2 separate regions of the Homo sapiens genome follow, and region 2 is linked to region 1. Evidence: promoter capture Hi-C in 16 types of primary human blood cells and fetal thymus (Javierre and others, 2016). All regions are on one chromosome and are shown on one strand. Each heading gives the region's core, a stretch centred on a gene start or on the middle of the fragment in contact. The rest is flanking DNA. Distances are from core to core; before and after follow the strand shown. Region 1 holds the start of ATP2B4 (ATPase plasma membrane Ca2+ transporting 4). Region 2 has its middle 6.8 kb from the start of LINC01353.

Region 1 (7,071 bases), core at 3,306-5,805:
CCAGTGATTTTTTTTTGTATTTTTATTTATGTATTTATTTACTGATACAGAGTCTCACTCTGTCACCCAGGCTGGAGTACAGTGGTGCAATCTCAGCTCACTGCAACCTCCATCACCTGGTTTCAAGCGATTCTCCTGCCTCAGTCTCCCGAGTAGCTGGGACTACAGGCGCGCACCACCGTGCCAGCTAAGTTTTGTATTTTTGGTAGAGACGGGGTTTCACCATGTTGCCCAGGCTGGTCTTGAACTCCTGACCTCAAGTGATCCAACCACCTCGGCCTCTCAAAGTGCTGGGATTACAGGCATGAGCCACCATGCCTGGCCCAGTTTCCATCTTAACAGTGAGAAGAAAGGACGTCCCAAAGAACTGGGTTCGGGCATGGGGAAAATGGCTGCTGTTCTAGCCAAGGCAAAATGGTAGATATTCACAACAGGGAGTCATGCAGTCTGCATTCGGGGGAGGTACAGGAAATGGTGAGGAAGATTTGGAAAACTCAAGGTGGAGTCATCAAGAGGCAGAGGAACACATTCTGTTAAACACCTAAGTGAGAGACAGTGCTGACTGCATTTTCCTCAAGTGAGAGATGGGGTAGGGACAGGGTCCACAGTGATGTAAGCCCTGTAGAGACTGACCTGCTATGGGGAGTTCAGGAGGCTGAGGAGAGCCAGGCTAGATCTAAAGAACAGGAACCTGTAAAGTCAAGAGTACAGCAGGGAGAAGAGGGAAACAGGACTGCTCAGAGCTGAGCAGAACAGGCAGACTATGAACTTCTGATGCCAGAGGCAGTGTCCTCCTTCTTGCCCCAGGGGGGCCAACTCCATTTTCCCACATCTAGTGGTTATTTTTATGGATAGATTTATTTTTACCCGTTCTAGACCTCAAACCTGCCGCTGCAAGAAGCGAAGCACTGAGGCTTCTAGCTTTCCAGAAAACACAGGCCTCAGTGGTCAGCTCAGTGACAGAGATCAGGCTATGGTCCCCTCGGCTCCTCTGGGGTCACATTGACCCACCCCCCGACATCCCTCCCTCCTGTCTGCAGCAGAGCTGGGGTGGGAATGGAGTGGGAGGGGGATTCCTTTTTTCTCATCCCACAACCCCACAGCCGGTCAAGGGGAGGATCTACAGCCACCCTGGAAGTCATAAACCTGGCCTGCCCCTGAATCCTAGCCAGCCAGATGTGGGACAGCCATCAGAGCCTCTTTTGACAGCACCTCCCTGGCAGAGCCTGTCTCCCTGGAATCCAGGGAGCTTGAGGGGAAGATCTTACCTTTCCAATAATAACCAGCTATGAAAGGGTATCATTTCCCAGTCCCCACAAAACAGGCAGCCAAAGCAGACTTCTTCTTTATTGGGACCATACATCTGGCCTAAATTGTCATTCCCCCAAGACAAGTTTACTGAACAGTTAGGCAATGCCTCCACACACAGCCACTGCAGACGAGCTTAAAATATACTTTAATACATTTAAACAGTCATTTCAGAGACTGGCTTTCTTATGATAAAGATGCAACTGACACTCATTGGTGCTAAAATGTCATGTTGTTGCCATCCAGCAGGGAGCCTGACAAGCCATTAAATCTGCAGCTCTGTTAAGCTGATTCATTTCTTTTCCTTTCTTTCTCATGTCTTCCCCAACAATTGATTTGGGCTCCTGAAGCTGATATTTTGCTAGGGTCTACCAAAATCTAACAAGGGTGCTGTGCATTGTAGGGTGTGCCCGTAGTCCCAGTTTCTAGGAAGGCTGAGGCGAGAGGATCACTTGAGGTCAGGAGTTTAAAAGCAACTTGGGCAACACAGGGAGACCCATAATGAAAAAAAAGAAGGAAGGAAGAAGGAAGGAAGGAAGGAAAGGGAGGAGGGAAGGGAGGGAGGAAGGAAGAGAGGAAGGAAGGACGGAAAAAAGGAAGAGAAAAAGAAAGAAAGAGAAAGAAAGAGAGAAAGAAAGAAAGAAAGAAGGAAGGAAGGAAGGAAGGAAGGAAAGAAAGAAAGAAAGAAAGAAAGAAAGAAAGAAAGAAAGAAAGAAAGAAAGAAAGAAAGAAAGAGGGAGGGAGGAAGGAAGGAAGGTAGAGGGAGGGAAGGAAGGAAGGGAGATGGAAGGAAGGAAGGGGAAAGAAAGGGAGAAAGGAAGGGAAGGGAAGGGAAGGGGAGGGAAAAGGAGGGAAGGGGAGGGAAAAAGGAGGGAAGGGAAGAGGGAGGGAAGGGAAGAGGGAGGGAATGGAAGAGGGAGGGAAGAGGGAGGGAGGAAGGAAGGAATCTAACAAGGTACTAACTGTTCTTGAAATGCCCTGGGAAGGTGGGAGTGACTAGAGGAGTTGCAAGAGGCTGAAATGAGAACAAAGGTCACCTTTAGTGTCCTGTAAGTGCCTTGAGTGTCAGACAGTCAATCACTAGACAAAAAAGACCAAACAATCCATAGTTCCCATAGAGGGTGACCCTAAAATCTCCCCTTACCCCTGCAACTTTCTTCGGCTGCTGGCAGGGAGAGGCACAAGCACAGGCAGGGGCTTATTTTTTTTCTCTTGTTTTTAATTTTTTTGTAGAGATGGGGTGGGTCTTGCTATGTTGCCCAGGCTGGTCTTGAAATCTGGCCCCAAGTGATCCTCCCTCCTCAGCCTCCCAAAGTACTGGAATTACACGGATGAGCCACTGTGCCTAGCCAGGGCTTATTTTGGATTTTGTTTTCAGATGACAGCAGGCAATCTCCAGCCTCACATTGATGAACTCTGAGTTCTGAGCCCAGCCCAACCAGTCTAAAAACATTACTGGCCGGGTGCGGGGGCTCACGCCTGTAATCCCAGCACTTTGGGAGGCCGAGGCGGGCAGATCATGAGGTCAGGAGATCGAGACCATTCTGGCTAACATGGTGAAACCCCGTCTCTACTAAAAATACAAAAACAAAATTAGCCGGGCGTGGTGGCAGGGGCCTGTAGTCCCAGCTACTCGGGAGGCTGAGGCAGGAGAATGGCGTGAACCCCGGAGGCGGAGCTTGCAGTGAGCCGAGATCACGCCACTGCACTCCAGCCTGGGCAACAGAGCAAGACTCCGTCTCAAAAAAAAAAAAAAAAACCATAAAGAAAAAAGAAATAGCAGGGTAAGAAAATGAAGAGGAAAAAGAGGACCCAAATGAGAGAACATTGGGAAGGGTGCTAGTTGGACACGGGGGAAACTGGACCCCGTTTCACAACCCTGTTTCTCCATGCACATGTGGCTCTGCTTCTTGGGGGCAGAGATGACAGCAAAGAAGGACAGGGGGTGGTGTGAGCTGTTGGGTTAGAATGATAGGATCAAAGAGGCCTTTTCCCAACCCTCTGTTTAAAAGGTTGGGAAGTAGTGGCCAGTCACCTTCTTCACAGCATAGCTCATAGCTATAACCTGTGAGACATATGTCAATGTGCCTTCCATAAGCATATAAACATGAGTGTGTTTGCTGAGGTAGGTGTGGGAATCTGTCAGTCAATGAAGATATGTTGTGTGAACCAGCTGATGGTGCATGTTTGTGCTTGAAAGCCATAAAGTTCTATGCAAAATCTATGGGTGGCACTGTTGCACAATGCTAGTGGGTGTGTGGGTATGGGGGTGTGATTAACTGTTTACAGGCTGTGTATAAGTGTGCATGGATGTCTGAGTGTGTGCAAATTAAAACGGAAATATGTGCCGGAGTATGATACAAAGTACAGGAAAGTACTCGGGCTTTGGAGTCTGTCTGACTTGGTCTTGAATCGTTGGCTCTGTCATTAGCCGGATGTATAACCTTGGGCCAGACACTCAATCTTCAATTCCCTCAACTAGGAAATGAGGTTAATAATAAGTACCTTTCAAGATTAAATGAGGACTAGAAACGATACCATATAGACAAAGCTTTTGGTGTCATAGCCCACGCATAGCAGGACTCAAAAGTAAGCAGCTATTTTCATGCACTGTCAGTATACCTCTGGTGGGTACAGGGACAAGAGGGAACAAAATGTGACCTGTATATAAGGTGTAGGGGAGGACGGGTGTGTGTGTGTGTGTGTGTGTGTGTGTGTGTGTGTGTGTGTGTGTGTTTACAAAACAATTTATTCTCCTTCTCCAAGGAACCCCCTATTCAGACAGGAGCAGGAAGGTAGGAGGGGACATACAAGTGTCCACAGACACCTCGGGTTTCTGGGTCCTGGATCTAAGTGAGTAAGGGGTTGAGAGGCCCGTAGGAGCTGCAGGAAGCCAGCCGCCTGCCCAAGCTTCCTTTTTTTTCCCCTCCGCCCAGCAACCGTTGAATACCGCCACCCACATCCACTCCCCACCTCCACCCTCACCCCTCCTCCACCCCTACTCAGCTTTCTATTCAACAAGTGAGAGCAAGGGCGGGGAAGAAAGCCGACAGGGGAGAGGATTGCTTCCCTTTCTTTTCCCATTCCCCCTTAAGACGAACCAGGAAGTAACCGCAAGAATCGGGCCACCTTAACAGTAGAGTAATGGTTTGGCCTCGCGCCAAGTCCCACCTCTGTTCCAGCTCCTGCTCCTCCCCTCTCTCTTCCCGCACTGCTTGGGGAGAGCTGGTGAGCAAGAGTCTGGCCCGAGTTAGCTAGAGCTGTTGCCATGACAAGCATTTTCTTAAGAAAGCTCTGCTGTTGAGATCGTCCAAAGCTGGGGGCTGGGAGGGGGGGCACGAACTTCGTGGGGCACCATCCCTCCGAAGAGAGCAAGATCAGAGACACCCGCCCAGCTCTCCTGCACCCTTTTTCTTTCAGGAACCTGAGAGGTCCTTCCCATTGGAGGGGCAGGGGGAGGAGACCCAGCCCACTCCCCGGCCTTAGCCAGAAAGGCAAGAGAGCAAAGCCAGCGTCTCTAGCTTGGTTGCCACACTGGGGAGACTGGTGGGTGGTCACCCCACCCTACCCTCATCCATGGAAACCCGGAGGGAGAGTCCCGCCTGAAGAAACCTGGATCTTTGCTAGAAAGAGAGGTAGGCTTGCAGAGAATGAATTGACTTGTGATTTGCAAACTTTGTTTCTTTCTTTTCTCTCAATGGCTTCTAAAACTCCCCGATTTTCCTCTTTCTAGAATATTTCATGCGACTGGGTTTGGAGGATTTTTTTTAAAATATGTGTGTGTGCACAGATTTGTCAAATACTGTTTTACCTATTATCAGTTCTGAGAAACCATATAGTCGAACAAGTGATTTATCTCTCTTTTCCTAGTTCTTGTCATTCCTGGGCTATGGGGTAGGGTAATGGAGGGTTCTCTTTTTGACACCAAAATTGAGCTCTTGGAAAAAATATTTATCTCCCCTCCCTCAACCCATTCCGTTCCTGCCCTCCCCTTCCCCCCTTGGCTTGGGAATGAGACGCAGGATGGAAAACTGTTGCAAAAATATTTTCCGTGTCTGTTCCCTTTCTCGAAAGCCCAAAAGAGAGATGGAAAAAAAAAAAAAAAAGGAACCAAAGAAATCTTCAGCAGAAAGAGGGGCTGCAGCGGGAACTAGGAGAGGGGCACTTTGGGGCCATGGGGTGGAGGTGGGCTGGGAGAAGTTGGCAGGAGTGGGGAAGGAGAGTGCACGAATTAAATTTCTTTAGCTTTGCAGAGAAACCTCAGCAGTTTCTCTGTGCTGCTTGCAAAACATCCTCAGACTTTCACATGTATAATTAGCTGTGGAAAAAGCTGGGAGTTACCTCGTACCGCTGTTGTTTGAGTGTGTGTGAGCGTCCAGAACCAACTGTATGAGTGTCTCCGAGGGCACCGCCCCACACATCTCTGGTCCCAAAGGGGAGGAAGGAGAAGGGTGAATTGAAAAGTTTCCGATGTCGAGGCTGGACACTGTGGGGCTGGTGAGTGTTTGGCAGATGGGGTGGGCCACAGGCATCTGTGGAAGGATCCCTGAGCGTCTCGGGCCACTGCCTTGGCTTGCTGAAGAGCTAGGAATTAAGACTGGGATTGTCCTTCCTGCTCTCCCTTCTCTCTTTCTTTTACATACTTGGCTCGCTCTTGGTAGAGGGGGCTGCTGGCATCCTTCCCCGAGTCGAGTCTGGCCTCTTACACTCCTCCACCTCCCTGAGGGTACCCGCCGCTCTTCTCCAACTGGGTGTGGAGGGTGCAGGAGTGGCCAGCCGCATCTTGGGAGGGGAGTGGGCACTCTGCTGCCAGAGGCACGTCCCTCCTGGGCATTCCTGCCGGACTTAACAATAACTTGCAGACGTGATGCCGGCGCCTGCTGGCCGGGCAGGGGGAATGTCAGATGAAGAAATAGGCCGGTACTCAACTGAGGCCCCTGTGGAGAGGGGAAAGGAGTGGGGGAGGGAAGGGAAACAAAATCCCATTCTGCAGCGCCCCCCTCCTCTGTGTGAGGAGTCTGGCAGGGAGTCTAGAGACCCTGGCCCTGCTCCTTAAGCCCCTCCCCAAGCTGCCCCTTCTCCACGCGCTTCCCATTGGAGGCCCTACTACGCCCCCTCCACTCTGAGCCCTCTACCTGGAGGAAGGAGACCAGGCTCATTCCAGGCTGGGCCAGGCCCAGGAAAGCAGCCTGGGAGTGACGAGGGGCTGGGCCAGGAGTGTTTAGGAAGAAGGGGAGTGGAAGAGGCCTCCTAGCCCATGTGCTGAGTTACCCTCCTTGGCTGAGGGTGGTGGCTTGGGGAGCAGACTCTGGGAGGGGCAGGAAGGATGGTGGCAGCTTGGTAAGGCGTGTTCTGGAAGGTGGGCCCTAAACCCTGAAGCAGACAAATCTGTGGGAATCAGGCTGGGGGAGAGGAAACACCTGCCTTCAGCCCCAGGGCTTGGAGGAGTGGTAAAGGCTACAGCTGAGACACTGCGGGAGAAGGAAGTAAAACACTTAGAGGAGAGCTCATCTCGGGGCTGGGGATGCAACAGGAACGATTTGATTTTCACTTTGAGGTGTTGATTGATCTGACTGCACCCCTCGGCTAGACAGCTCTTCCCTACCTGTGTTCTGCTCGAGAAGGGAATGAGGCCTTCCCCAGTGGGCAGGGCCCCCAAGACAGAATTAATGCCCGTGTTCTGGAGGGAGGGGATCCATTTCTATACTCCTCCTCGGGAGTCCCATCCTCCCTGCCACCATCTTGCTGAGGTGCAACCTCGAA
Region 2 (7,071 bases), core at 3,066-5,565, 350 kb before region 1:
CCAGGAGGATGGAAGCCTTTTGGAAGAGCCTTTCTTCCCGGCGATGGCCCCCTCCCAACCTCTACCCCACTGACACTCTCTACACAAACCTCTGAAGGAGAGAGGCAGCCCCCAAACAGATCTTCTTGAAGATACCCCAATTCAGGGTCACCCTTCAAGAAAACACACCCCTAAGAAAGCTAACTCCTATCCCTGCTCTGCTTGGAAGCCTGCTGTGGGTGACATGAACACAAGCCAGCCTAGAGCAGGTAGGACATCGGGATCCCCTGAACTGTGTGTGCTGCACACACAGCTCACAGACGTCCTTCACAGCTGGCACTTCCATCCCTGCTCATCACTATCCTGTGGGTTAGCAAAGCAACTGTTTTTATTCCCATTTTACAGACCAGGAAACTGGGTCCCAGGAGGGAAGGGGCCTGCTGAGGTCACACGGCCTATCCTTCATGCTAGAGTACATGGAGAACAGGACTTGCTGTCTCCCAGGGCGGCCCCTGATGAGCCGAGAGCCCAGAAGGGTGTTTGGCTGACTCGAGTGCTCAGCTCAGCTGCCTGGTGAGATGTGCCAAGTCGCAGTACTTTAGAAGGGTGGGAGGCAGCCCGTGCCTGGAAACAGCACCCTGGCTGCCCCCACCCAGGCCCTGACCTGCTGGATGGGGCTCAGACTCAGGAAGAGCTGCTGGAAACCTGGGTTCCCCCTTGGCTAGGAACAGAAGGGTTAGGAAGCGCTTGGGGAGGAAGCTGCCCTCAGTGCTTACCTGTGGGAGTCTGTGGTTTCCCTCTGTTTCCTTGTCCCTCTGGGTTTTTGTGTTACTTTGTTTTTGGTTTTCTTTTTGCTTTTTTCCAGGGCTGACAAGAAAAGGGGAGACAGGGGTATAAATTTCTGAGCTGGAAATCTGGAAGGGGAACTGAGCTGGACTCTGATATGTATCACATTAATCCTGTGTAACATTTCTCATAGGCCTGCCCTTGCTGTGTCTTTGAAAATTGTCATGGCTCGCCAAGGTGGGTGGATCACCTGAGGTCAGGAGTTCAAGACCAGCCTGGCCAACATGGTGAAACCCCATCTCTACTAAAAATACAAAAATTAGCCAGGCACGGTGGCGTGTGCCTGTAATCCCAGCTACTCAGGAGGCTGAGGCAGGAGAATCACTTGAACCTGGGAGGTGGAGGTTGCAGTGAGCGAAGATCGCGTCACTGCACTCCAGCCTAGGCGACAGTGAGACTCTGTCTCGAGAAAAAGAAAAAAAGTTGTCATGGTTTGAACCCATACTTGGTGGCCCCATCTCTGTCTCTGACTGTCTATCTGCCTCTGCCTCCCTCTGTCTCTGCCTGTTTCCTGTGTCTGTCTTTGTCTCTATGTGTGTGTGTACAAATACATATAGGTATATATATTCTGTCTTTCTCTGTTGCTGTCTCTCCCCCGACCAATCTGATCTGAAGGATCACAGAGCTGGATGGGACAAGGGTCACCATCTCATCCATTCACAGCCTTTGACCAAGATGGTCTGTGAACCATTGGATGTGGGTTAGGTTTTGAAACAAACTTCCCCTTCCCGCCCCACTTGGGCATCAGTTCATGCTCAGCTTGGGTTTAACAGTCTCCAGATTTCCTCTTTGAGCCAAATTCTCACCCTTCCTGCTGCTGTTTGGACACTTGCTTTGGTGTCCTACAGGGAATAATGATAAGGCAGAGGTCACAGTCCTGGCCCCCACCCAGCCTTGCCTGCTGCGCAGTGAAACTGGTGTTTGCCGGGGCCGGTCTTGGCCAGGAGAGAGGAGGAGGGGTGGAGGCAGCTGGGGAGTGTGAGCAAGATGCCGCGGGGGCTCGGGGGAGACTGCAGCCAAGTGCTGCGTCTGAGGATATTTATAGACAGACACACAGAGAGACATGCACGCAGGGACAGAGTACTGTTTGTTTCCTGGAAACATGGACTGTTCTCTCAGTCCTACCAGATTTCCCAGGGAGCATCATACTGAAATAGGGAAAACTGTGTCTGCTGCCTGGTGTCCGCCCTCCACATAAGGAGAGATCTGATTCGCTCCACACCCCCTTGGTAACTGCAACGACTGCCCCTAGCCTGGGGAAGCCCTTTCCAGGCGTTCCTGACTGCCCCGCTCACTTCTCTGTCTCATCTCGCCTCCCAGGCCTCCTTGCGCTACTCCCACAGCAAAACACTGCACCAGTGCTTGCCCTTCTTGGGGGCTTCCTGGCCTTTGCACACACAGCTCCGTCTGCCAGGAATGCTTTTCCATCCATTCCTATTCTTCTGGCAAAGCCCTACTCATCATCTGCCCACACGTCACCTCCTCTGAGGGGTCTTTTCTCACCTCTCCTCTGAGAGCTTAGGACTTTGCATGGTTATGTCGCTGTTGTTATTTCTATTTACCTCTGTCTCCGCCTCCAAACCATAAATTCCTCAAAGTCAAGGACTTTCTCTTACTCATCTGTGCGTCCTCAACATGTAGACCAGTGCCTGAAGCAGAGCTGATGAGCAATGGAGAATTGTTGAATGAATGGATGAGATTTGTACAGTATAGCTGCTAAGAGTTCAAGGTCTGTGTTCAGTGGAAGATTTGGTTTAAATACCAGCTCTATGTGAACTTAACCTGGAATTAGAAAACAAAACAAAACAAAAAACAAAAATAAATAAATAAATGCCAGAGCTCTGCCTCTTGCTAGCTATGTGATTTTTCCAGTCACCTGGCCTCTCTAAGCGATTCCACGTCTATAAAGTGGCCTATAACAATAGAACCTTGCAAAGGCCGGGCACAGTGGCTCACGCCTGGAATCCCAGCACTTCGGGAGGCCAAGGCCGGCAGATCATGAGGTCAGGAGATCGAGACCATCCTGGCTAACACGGTGAATCCCCGTCTCTACTAAAAATACAAAAAATTAGCCGGTCGTGGTGGCGGCACCTGTAGTCCCAGCTACTCGGGAGGTTGAGGCAGAAGAATGGCGTGAACCTGGGAGGCGGAGGTTGCAGTAAGCCGAGATTGTGTCACTGTACTCCAGCCTGGGCAACAGAGCAGAGCGAGACTCCGTCTCAAAAAAAAAAAAAAAAAAAAAATAGAACCTTGCTTACGTGATTAACGTAAAATTTTAACGACATTACATATTCCCATGGTGCCTGGCACACATGGGTTTTTCTCACAACCCACATTTTGTCAGCAAACCCTGTAGATTCCTCTTTTAAAATGTCCAGTCTCTTCTTACCTTCCAACTGCCAACAACCCAATCCAAACCACCACCATTTCTCACTGACACCCAGCCCTCACTTATTTCCAGCACAGCTTTCAGAAGCAGTCTCTTAAAAATATGTCACATCATCTGACTCCTCTGCCAAAATTCTCCTTGGCCTCTCCTTCTCACTAGAGGAAAAGCCCAGGTCCTCATCATTCTCATCATGGCCTACGAGGCCCTTTAGGATGGTGTCGCCCACCACCACTGACTCCACCTCTTCACTTTCTCCCCTGCTCTCCTGGCTCCAGCTGCACGCCACTCTGCCCAGTGCCCTTCTACGTGCCATTTCCTCAGCTTGGAATTCTATTCCTTCAGAATCCTCATGCCTCCCTCAAAGGCTGCCTTCTCCATGAGGCCCTCCCTGGCTGTCCAATTTAAACTTTCAATGATATGCTCGCTGTTGGCACATTCTTTTTTTTTTTTTTTTTTTTTTTGAGATGGCGTCTTGCTCCTGTTGCCCAGGCTGGAGTGCAGTGGTGGGAACTCAGCTCACTGCAGCCTCCACCTCCCAGGTTCAACGATTCCCCTGAGTTGAGTAGTCCCTGAGTAGCTTGGACTACAGGCATGTGCCATCATGCCCAGGTAATTTTTGTATTTTTAGTAGAGACGGGGTTTCATCATGTTGGTCAGTCTTGTCTTGAACACCTGACCTCAAGCAATCCACCTGCCTTGGCCTTCCAAAGTGCTTCTTACAGGCATGAGCCATTGCGCCTGGCCTCACTATTGGTACCTTCTATCCCACTTTGCTGCTGGATTATTTCACGTTAGCCTTTATGATAGTATTTATCATTAGTAAATATCATTAATATTTATCAATAGTAAATATCATTACTATTTTAGGTATTTCCTTATTTACCGTCTGTCTTCCCTGGTAGAATATAAGCTTCAAGGGAGCAGGGATTTTTGCCTTTTGTGTTTGTTGCTGTATCCCTAGCATGTAGAACAGTCTGGCATGAATGAGTACTCAGTAAATACTTTGTTGAATAAGTAGATCAGATCTGGGAAGTTTTGCTAGAGTACATTTCCCTCTGTTTACAAGAACTTGGTGCCCCGAGACTGTGAAGATGAGAGCTTATACTGATGTAAAATACGAAAATGTAGCATCCCAGAGATCTGGGTGGGGCTCGGCCACTCCTCCTTGCCCCTGGGCAGCCAGAACTGACTCAGGAGGCAGAACCCCAAAGCATGCTTCTGCCTCAGACTGGATTTTCCCCTCCTTCCAGCCCAGCCCAGCTGCCTCCAGTAGAGGGCTTGGCTGGGAACTTCAAGCTTGTCCTTTTCTCTGGAGAGGATGGGCATTGGGCCTCCACCCTTGGAAGAAGGAGTGGCAGGTGAAGATGACCCACAGCTAAATGGCTGCTAGCTGCCTTTTGTCCAGTTTTCTTGGGATTCCCACAGGGCCTTCCTAGGGAAAAAAATCAATGCCATCCTCCTTGGCCTTGGTTTTCCAAGAAAGCAATGCTCTTCGCTGGGCATGGTAGCTCACGCCTGTAATCCCAGCATGTTGGGAGGCTAAGGCAGGAGAGAATCACTTGAGCCCAGGAGTTCGAGACTAGACAGGGAATCATAGGGAGATCCCGTCTCTACACATAATAAAATAAAATAAAATAAAAAATTAGTGGGGCATGGGGTGGCACGTTCCTGTAGTCCTCACTACTCAGGAAGCATCCGTCTTGTTTCTCCAGATAAACTGAACATTTGCTGACAGCACAGACCCTGTCTTATTCACCTTCATTTGCCAGTACTTTAGAGCATGGTAGCTGCTCATTAAGTTTTTGTGAAATAATTATGAAATTATTCCTATTTCATAATTAATAGTGAAATAAATATTTCACTAGGAGTGAAATAATTATGAAATCACCGTTACCGCCCCCACCCCCAACCTGCCAAAGTCTTCCTAGAAAAGCATCCTGCTGTTTTTCACTGTAACTCCCATCAGGCAGAAAGCCCCAGAACTCGGGGCAGGGAAATGTTCACCCAACCCAATGAGGCCTTCCTGGACCCTCCTTGCCCCTCTCCCACTCCCAGTTCTCTAGCCCCATGTCTAGGAACCTCTCTGGGTCCTCTGGCACTGGTGGTGGGTCCTCTGTCCTGCTCCCAATCCCCTCCCTCTGTCCTAAGAACACTCTTTCCAGGCTCCTAGCTGTGAGTGACACATCAGATACCGCAGCACAGGGTGCTCCTGGATGGAGACAAGGTAGGAGGGTGAGGGATGGTGACAGGATATAAGAAATTCAGAGAGCAGGAGAAATTGGAGAAGGCAGCAAGCCCACTGCCCTCCCTCCCAGCTTGGAGGCTAGATCTTTAGACAAGGTCTGTAAATAACATCAGAGTGGCCTCTGGTTCTGTGTTTGAACTGTGACGTTCTACTCCCCAAATAGAACTCGACTATCTGATCCAGGCATTCCCTGGGCCTGGGGGAGCAGCGAGAACCTGTCTCTCCCTCTCAGGGTACTCTAGAGCCAGGACCCAGGACCCTGCCCCCATGACCCAGCTCACATATCTACGAATCCGTGAGGTTGTACTGAAGGTATGGTTTGTGTGACCTTTGCAACACACTCATGTCTCTGGAGCACCCGAGGTTAGAGTTTTCAACAGTTCATAAGAGAGACAAGTAGTGCTGTGTTTTCTCCCTGAAAATAAGCAGAGATTCTGATGCCCAGGGGGAACACCAGAGTGGGCTCAAAGGTCACTTACTGTGGTCAAGCTCCACAGAAATTCAACCACTCACTCCCCTGTGTTTTGGGTCTCCCAGGAGGGCCTTGGGAGTATGTGCAGTGGGCTGCCCCTATGGGAGGTGGCTGAGAATAGGGAAGGTGGAGAACACAGCCAGGGCCATGCAAGCGTGCAGTGAGGCGTTCTGTCCTGTTACAGTGTGTCTCCCTGCCACCCTCTGTTTCTCCCACCCTCTCGCCCTTTCTGCTCCAATAATCCCTCCTCCCTCCAGAGAGCAGAGGGGTGACTGACGGGTCTGCCATCTGCTGCCTTCCCTCATGCTCCAGGTACCCTGCACAGGAGTAATCTAAACGACTTGGGTAACCGAGATAAGATCCTTGCTGCCATTAAACATTGACAGGCCCCAGTGTGATGAGAGTGCTCAGTTGCAGAGAAACTCCTGGACTAGTCCATGGGGAGGCAGGGAGACCACAGCAGCTGGGCCATTAAAAATGAATGGAAACCAACCCTTCTAAGGGGCTGTGCCTCTTAAAGTGACAGTTCTCCTGTTGGCTGGGGGAGAAGCCAGGAGGATTCAGAAAAGGCCAGGAGGCCCAGGCCCTACCCAGTATTCAAAGTCGTAGCTATTTGTGCCCTTCACACTCTGTTAGTTGGGCGGAAAGAGCGTGGGTTCGGAATCAGGCAGATTTGAATTTGAGTCTCAGCTTGACCCTACAGTGTGGGTTTAGGCACCCTGAACGTTAGTTTGTTCATCTGTAAAATGGGCTTAATACTTACTCAAAAGGCTATAGGAATGAAGTGAAATAATACATATAAGTTGTCTAGTATGGTGTTTGGTCTATTAGAAATAATTACTTAAGGCTGGACATAGTGGCTTATGCCTGTAATCCCAGGACTCTGGGAGTCTGAGGCTTGAGCTCAGGAGTTTGCGACCAGCCTGGGCAACACGACGAAACCCCATCTTTACAAAAAATACAAAAATTAGCCAAGTGTAGTGGTGCATGCCTGTAGCTTCAGCTACTCAGGAGGCCGAGGTGAGAGGATCACTTGAGCCTGGGAGACGGAGGCTGCAGTGAGCTGAGATCACACCACTGCACTCCAGCCTGGGCGATAGAGCCAGACCTTGTCTCAAAAATAAGTAAATAAATAAATAA

Evidence for each region. The method cuts DNA at HindIII sites, captures the fragments that hold promoters and counts their contacts. A CHiCAGO score of 5 or more calls a contact.
Region 2: a fragment that was not itself captured here is called in contact with the fragment with the promoter of ATP2B4 in region 1 in 2 of 17 cell types (total CD8 T cells and activated CD4 T cells); the score reaches 5.3 in total CD8 T cells.

Annotation. Positions count from the first base shown.
Region 1 is chr1:203,622,277-203,629,347 of GRCh38, forward strand. ATP2B4 (ATPase plasma membrane Ca2+ transporting 4) reads left to right here and starts at 4,556. Exons shown (of 21, transcript NM_001684.5): 1 at 4,556-4,943. RefSeq lists enhancers at 3,550-4,424, 4,425-5,297. The HindIII fragment of the contact is 13,651 bases long and covers 4,217-7,071 here.
Region 2 is chr1:203,276,786-203,283,856 of GRCh38, forward strand. No RefSeq gene overlaps it. Among named protein-coding and RNA genes, the nearest start is that of LINC01353, 6.8 kb to the right of the region's middle. RefSeq lists a silencer at 6,510-6,559. The HindIII fragment of the contact is 386 bases long and covers 4,123-4,508 here.